Regions from separate parts of the Homo sapiens genome. Here region 1 is linked to region 2. Evidence: promoter capture Hi-C in 16 types of primary human blood cells and fetal thymus (Javierre and others, 2016). All regions are on one chromosome and are shown on one strand. Each heading gives the region's core, a stretch centred on a gene start or on the middle of the fragment in contact. The rest is flanking DNA. Distances are from core to core; before and after follow the strand shown. Region 1 has its middle 7.2 kb from the start of KRT19. Region 2 holds the start of KRT33A (keratin 33A).

Region 1 (3,776 bases), core at 789-3,288, 180 kb after region 2:
GGACCACCTCTCCCCAATTCAGGAGAAGACAGGAGATTTACTTTTCCTGATTAGACTGGCCTGCTCACAACGTTTGATGATGTCAAGTGTAGAGAAGCCATGAGTAAATGAACCTCCTCAAACACATTGGTGGGAGGTGGGTTGTAGTAACCACTTTGCAGAGCGATTTGACAATGTCATCATTTTTTTTAACATTCATGCACTTCTTGAGCCATCAGTTCCACTCTTCGTGTTCATCCGAAAGAAACCCTGGCCCGTGTATTGAGGAAGTCATATAAAAGGATGCCCTATGCAGCATTGTTTGCTACAGTGCAAAGACACAAACAATCACTAATGGCGGGGAGGCGTTCAGTAACTATGTAACATCCTGCTGTGGAGGACTAGAAATTAAATGGAATGAGTAATGACAATGAATAGTGACACTGAAAACCCTAAAGAACTAGTTATTGGGCCGGACATGGTGGCTCACGCCTGTAATCCCAGCACTTTGGGAGGCCAAGGTGGGTGGATCACCTGAGGTCAGGAGTTCGAGACCACCCTGGCCAACATGGTGAAACCCCGTCTCCACTAAAAGTACAAAAATTAGCCAGTCGTGGCGGCGGGTGCCTGTAATCTCAGCTACTCGGGAGGCTAAGGCAGGAGAATTGCTTGAACCCGGGAGGCAGAGCTTGCAGTGAGCTGAGATCGAGCCATTACACTCCAGCCTGGGTGACAAGAGTGAAACTCCATCTCAAAAGAAAAAAAAAAAAAAACTAGTTGTTGGGTACAGTAAATCTAGTTGGAGAGCAACACACTTAATATGATAAATTCATGTCAACATACATTCAAAAGATGACTTATTGCTAAGGTCCATATGAATATGTATGAATATATGCATAGGTAAGGAAGGAATCTGATTGAAGGATGGTAGCCAATAGGAACCTAAGCTTAATCTCTATGGTTTTAAGTTTTATAAGAATGTATTTAGTATTTCTTGTTAATTAAAGTAAATAATTTCTTAAGTAACACTAAACCACAGACATTTAGAACTAGCCAAATTTCATATAGTCAATACCCTCTTCCCCTCCCTGCACTCACCACTGACATCATTGTCTCTGCTCATCCACACCAACCCTAGCCTTGAATTGAGAAATGAGAGAGGAAGTTTTGGAAGAGGGAGAACTAGATGTGAGGAGAAAAGAGACCCTGGAAAGGGTTTCCATCCTCGTGCCCCCACCCCTGGGTCCGCCAGGCTAGTTTTACTTCTTTATGAAACAAGAAGGCAAAACGGACAAGAAGAACTTTGGAAGAGTCTGAGTACAGGGAGAGCTCCTTGCAGCCGATGACTTACACCTGAGGAAAGCCCTCCCACTCTGGTTCTCCAAGGATCCATCGTCTGGAAGCATCTGAAGTTGGCCCCCCTGGGTGTTCTCACAACAGACAACAAGGCTCTCCCAGGTGGTGGCGTGGATCTGTGGGGCTACAGCTGGTGGCAGAGCAGAGGGTATTCTATGCAAGACAGCAGCCACCTTGTGGGCACATGCGAGGCATTCCCCTGGGGACTTTCTGAAATAACTGGAAGATCTTTAGGGGGTGCTGGAGTGGGAGCCACCATGTGGGCCATCAGGCTAGAGCTATTGACCCAGTATTGAGGTATGCCTCAAACCAATCAATGTGATCAAGTATGTAGACACTGGGAATTATGTCTGCCTGGGGGCATTGAGAGCTATTTAATTACAGAGGCATGACCCTTGAGCAAGAAGCTGACAGACCAGTAGGTATTTCTCAGGCAGAAGAGTAAAGAGAATGGGGGCCTGGAAGAGATGAGTAACCGGGCCCAGCTTGGGAGACTACTGGCAATTCAATATGGTTGGGCCATGGCAGGAGGGGAGGGAAGGGGGTCGTTGAGGACAAGGTCAGCTGTGGGGGAGCTGTAAGCAAGACAATGGAAAGTCATTTTCATCAGGGATGGGATGTGGGTTTTGTGTGGCAAATGGGTTGATGTGTCAAGGGAAGCAGGGATGACCAGGGATAAAGAACCCAGTTTAGGGTGTTTTAAAATAGTCCATGCTAGAGATGAGAGGGTCTGAATCTAGCCATAGTGGTGGGCTAGAGAGTAAAGGACAGAGACAAGACCTGCTGTTATGACCTGATGACAAATGGGAGTGATGAAAGAGAGGGACCCTGCACAAAGCACTGCTGTGTGCCAGAGATGCTGGCCAAGTCCTGGACGGTCTCAGCTGAGCAAGATCCCTGCCACTACCATCCCCCAGCCCTGGGACCCATGCCGTCTCTTGGGGAGCCTTGCTCTTGCCCAGATGGGGAAGAATCCTATTCACTGTCTTGAAGGGCCCAGCAGCCAGGACAGGGCAGCGCCGGCCATGTCATGAGCAGCCCAAAGCCGCACTCGGGTCAGGAGGCTGATGCTCTCGGGACTTGAGCCTCCGCACAGCCCAGGTCTGGCCATTTCTGCTGCATCTCAATGGCTTCCTGAGACGTGGAAACCCAGGAAAGGGGGAGGGCAGGGCAAGTAAGCTAGGTCAGGATGGCCCCTGGTGTTCCTCTCCAAGTCCTCAGGGGAGGAAAAACCAGCCCGACCAGAACCAGGGCAGATGGTGTGGGTGGGGAGGGACAGCTGAGTCCTGCAAGGAATAGTCCCAGGTCCAGGGGCCAGCTTCCCCGAGGTGCCACATTCCACAGCCTGGGAAGACAGGGGCCTGCCTCCTCCTCACTCCCTCTCCCTGGAGGTGAGTACGTGAGCAGGCTCACGCTCACTCCACACAGGGAGGCCCCCCCACCGATCTTAGCCAGGGGTGTCTCTCTCAGCTTTTGTCCTGCCCTACTCAATTTGGGCCTCATTTGACGCCTCTGCCCCACTTCAAGCTGTGGCCCATTCCATCTGGACTGGGGCAAGGAGAGTGCCAGACACAGGACAGAGAGAAAGAAAATGTCCGGGTGCCTGCCCGGATTCCCAGCACCCAGGAGAGGGCACCTGGGTGCTTCCCTGCTGCCTTCTGGCTGACAAACTTCCCTCCCATCAGGATCCTGGTGGGCTGTGGTGGCGATGCTGCCTCCTTCAAGAACAGACTCTGGGCAGTCCCAGATGAGCAAGACCCCTCCACAGGCAAAATCTTTCCTTTCAAAACCCATCTGATCCCACGACTCCTGAGGGGAAGCTTCAGCTCTGTACTCCCCCTCACCTGGGAAGGTTCCCGTCCAGAAACTCAAATTGTCCTCCTCGGATGCAGGGGTCTTGGACACTGCAAGCATTTTCACTGAACACCCGCTGTATGCTGGAGGCCACCTCCACCCGGCGTTGGCCAGAGCATCCTCCCTGCCTACCTGCCCCCTCCCTTTACCTGGATGGCAGCCATGCCAGCTCCTCTCAGTTCCATTGGCATGGGTTTCTTCTCCCTGATATGTCCACCCTGACCCGCTCAGGCTGGGTCAGCATTCCCACCCCCACCCACTTGCCCAGCACTTACCACAGCTCTGTCTCCCCATCTAGACTTGGAGCTTCTGTATCTAGCCCCAGGGCTGACTCCAGCACTAGTAAACATTTAATGATTATTTGCCAGAACAGAGCCTTCTCCTGAAGCCCTTTTATTTTTTTTCATTTAACACCAATTATGGTCCACCTTCTGTGTGCCAGGCACCTTCTAGACTCTGGGCTTCAAGAGCAGGGCAGTCTAAAGCTGCCTGCCCTCCTGGGGCTTTCATCTGGGGTAGGGGGCAGAGTAGCAAAGCCAGGGAGGGGGTCAGCAGGGAAGGCCATTGAGGGGTGGTCAGGGAAGGCC
Region 2 (3,790 bases), core at 13-2,512:
TGAATATTTCCAAAATTATATTCAAAAAAAGAACACCAAAATATGCAAAAAGTATAAGTAGATAATCTTTTTTCTATCCTAATGAGCAATACTGAGAAGCTGATCATAATAGTTGACATTTATGAAAAACACCTACTATGTTTCTGGCATGATACTAGGAGCTGAGGATACAAAAATTGGTAAGCACTTGATCCTGCCCTCAAGAAACTTTCAATCAAGCAGAAAAGACAAATAGGTAAACTAGCAATTGCAGGGGACTGGATCAGGGAAGAAGCCACATGTTCCCAGATGTCCCAGACAACTGGGACTACTTTGTCCTAGGTAATTTCCAATCTTCCCAATTTGGGCCAAACATTTTAGGCTCTCACTGGACACTGTGCACCAGGAGAAGCCCAGAGGCATGAAGGTGAGGACAATGAAATCAGGATAAGTAGGAACCTAGAAGAGAGAGGCAGCCAGCAGTCCAAGGGGCAAAAAGCTCAGATGAGGGAGAAAGAAAATGGCCCAGTCTTTACAAAAGATTCCGTTTCCCCAGCTTCCTTTGGACTCAGTCCTTTTCTCTCACCTCAGGGTAATAATTCTGGAGCTTGGCAGGTGCATGGAAGCATTCAGAGGTAGTTTTTAATTACAGCTCATTTATGCAAAGTGCTGCTACCTCCACATAGACTAACACTATGCAAATATTTAGACCTAACAGTCCCAAGTCTAGTATTAGATGGGCCCTCAAAAAACAAAATGGAAAGGCCAGTTTTCAGCTTTTCATTCACATCAAGAGCTTACGTTGTTTCTCAATCACAACTCGGATTCTCTCCCGACAACTTCCTACTGGAGGCACTGTGTCGCCCACTCCTCACCTTCTGCTGGAGCTCCTCAATGGTCTTGAAGTAGGACTGGTAGCTGGCACACACCAAGGGCTCCTGCTGCTGTGACCGCTCCCGGATGAGGTTCTCCAGCTCCGCGTTGTCCCGCTCCAGCTGACGCACCTTCTCCAGGTAGCTGGCCAGGCGGTCGTTCAGGAACTGCATGGTCTCCTTCTCACTGCCATTGAAGGAGCCCTCACAGAACCAGTTGCAGTTGCTCACATTGGCGGGGATGTTGCAGGCCCCGGGCAGGGTGCAGCCGTGGCAGCTGGGGGGCACACAGGGCCGGGAGGAGCAGCTGGTGCGGCAGCTCAGGCTGGGCAGGCCACAACTGTAAGACATGGTGCAGGGAGGGAGTGTCCAGCTGAAGACAGAGTCCAAAATCTCCAGGTTGTAGAGCGGTGGGTCTCCTTCCTCCAGGGAGCATTTATACCTCGTCCATGGAGGGTGTGGACACGTAAGACAACCCCTTTTTTTTTTTTTTTTTTTTGCTCATTTGGTGATTGTCAAAAGCCCTTCCCTCCATTTGTTGTGTTTCTTCAGAAGAGTCTCTCCCCTCATAAAATACTTTACTTGGGCTTCTCGCTAAGTCGGGACTCCTCTTCCATGCTGTGTGTCATGATGTAAGAGCTTCATGGTGTGACTTCAAAGACCTGGACTCATGAAAGCCCTGGCCTTCTTCAGTGGGGTGCAGCAGGTCAAGAGACAGTATTGCTGTTCTGCTTTGTGGCTTGAGGCCCCTAACTCTTTGGCAAGCTCTGGCTCTCCTTGGTGAAATGGAAAAGCATAGCTCTTGCCCTGTGTCTTTTGCTAGGTCACATTTCCAAGTGCCAAATTCCAAATTCATGGTTCTCAGAAAGAGGAATAGATCCTTTCTGGGACAGTTCCTGATGGCCATGTTTCCTGATATGATGGGCTTTTTTCATGTCCATGATGACGTCAATCAACCAAATAATAGATATCCACTATGACAATTTCATCCAGGGCGATGTAATAGACACTGGGAGGGGTGGAAAATAGGACTCAATGCTATGGTCAGAAGAAGTTCTTACTTGTTAAGAAACTGCACAAGCCCAAGGTAGTGTGGACACTTTTCACAAACTAGATCCTTTTTACAAACATGATCCTCAAACATGCAGAACTTAGATGTCCATTATTCCTCACCAGAACTCTTAAAGGTAAACTGTATAATTCCCATTTTATAGATGAGAACACCAAGGCATAGAGGGTGAGGATAATAAGTTGTGGACCTAGGATTCCAAAGCAGATCACTTTTCTTTTCATCACAACACTTGGCTTAAATATAAATGGCTTACTTCCTTCCCTTCTTCAGACAGGCCGTCCCTTTCTCCTCTCCAAGCTCTCTTTTTACCTTGAGCATGACACTGTCATGACTTATGTGCTTGTCTCTCTGTCTCTATTTGAGGTCCCTGAAGGCAAGGGCAGGGTCTAGTTTGTCTTTGAATCCCCAGCTCTAGGCACCTGGTAGGCACTGTTGAATGGGTGTGGGTAGAGTGATGAAGGGATGAACAGGAAATAATAATCTGAGGCAGAAGTTGACAAGTGATAACTGAGTGGTTTACACACTGGGGAGGGCGAGCAGCTCCAGGATTGGAGGCTCTTAGGAATGGATGAATGGATTTGTGCTGGGATAGGGAGGCTTCTAAGAAGCAGAGGGGAGAAAAGTAGGAAGTGCAGGTGAGGAGAATAATGTGCACACAGGAATGGGGTGGGAAAGCCCAAGGCATGGTTGAAGGACCAGGGTAAGTCTAGGCAGCAGGAAGGGGAGAGTTGTGAAGGGAAGTGCTAGAAATTAAAGCTTTATGGGGGATTGTATGGGGACCCTATGGTAGGGGGTCTCGATGGTGAAGTGGAGCAGCTTGGACTTCCCCAGAAGCTGTAGAGCCAGTATAAGCTTTTGAACCTAAGTGTGGTGTGACAAAAGGTGTTTTAGGAAATGTTTTAGCAAATATTTATCTGTTTTTGAAAAATGAAGGAAAGATTGGAGGCAAAGAGTTCAGCAAAGAGACTATTGCAACAGTCCATGCAAGACTAGAATTTATGGCAGGGATGATGATACAGATAAGGTTTAGTACAAGTGAGAGAGTTAGAGAACTGGGCCAAGGGAGAGTACAAAGAGAAGAGCAACAAGGAGCTGAGGACCAAACTTTGGAGAATTTCCCAATCAGAGATCAGGAGAAGGAAAAAGAATCTGTGATAAATGGAGAAATGGTGAGAAAAAAATGATAAAAACAAGTTCATGGCATCCCAGAAGGGCAGGAAGGAGGGTGCTTCCAAGAGGAGGTGATGTTAGAAGTGCCAAGTGCAGCAAAGGGGCCGCACATGATCAGGACCATGGAGAGGGTATTGGCTGCCTTGACCAGAAATTTACCAGGACCTTTCCAGGGTCACACAGGTATGCCTGCTGTACGCAGCGCCTGTGCACATTCTTAAAGTAATGCCCACAGTGAACTTCGGTAAACCAAGACTTCAAACACACAGAATTGAGATGTTCATTACTTAGAGAAGTTCTGCTGCAATAAATTTATATATCTGATTATTAAGCTTGGAGCTTTGATCTTACCAATACAGACTTTTATACAATAATTGGAGTGGGCTTTACGCAGATGCCAGACTTGTTTGAACTTGATGATTCGTAATAGTTTATTATTTAGGAACAATTATCCAAGAAGCATGAGTAATCTGAACTGACCGTGCATATGACACCACTTCTGTTTTGTCACAAGATGTAAGATGAGCCTTATTTGATATCCTAAAGAGGCAATGAGGAAAAAATTCAAGTATGGGCCTGAGGAGGCATACATTGGCCAGAAAGAGGAGGGGCTTCCTATGTCCTTGCTAGCAGAGGATAAAGCAGACAACAGATTCCAAGCCTCCCAGCTACAGCTACCAATCCAAGCAGCTTCCAA

The links. The method cuts DNA at HindIII sites, captures the fragments that hold promoters and counts their contacts. A CHiCAGO score of 5 or more calls a contact.
Region 1: a contact is called between a fragment that was not itself captured here and the fragment with the promoter of KRT33A in region 2, in 1 of 17 cell types (naive CD4 T cells). The highest score is 5.2, in naive CD4 T cells.

What each region holds. Positions count from the first base shown.
Region 1 is chr17:41,533,634-41,537,409 of GRCh38, forward strand. No RefSeq gene overlaps it. Among named protein-coding and RNA genes, the nearest start is that of KRT19, 7.2 kb to the left of the region's middle. The HindIII fragment of the contact is 2,229 bases long and covers 925-3,153 here.
Region 2 is chr17:41,349,566-41,353,355 of GRCh38, forward strand. It overlaps KRT33A (keratin 33A), which reads right to left and starts at 1,263. Exons shown (of 7, transcript NM_004138.4): 1 at 855-1,263. The coding sequence starts at 1,202. LOC105371778 (a long non-coding RNA gene) reads left to right here and starts at 1,932. Exons shown (of 2, transcript XR_001753056.1): 1 at 1,932-2,038; 2 at 2,857-3,790. The HindIII fragment of the contact is 4,412 bases long and covers 1-2,677 here.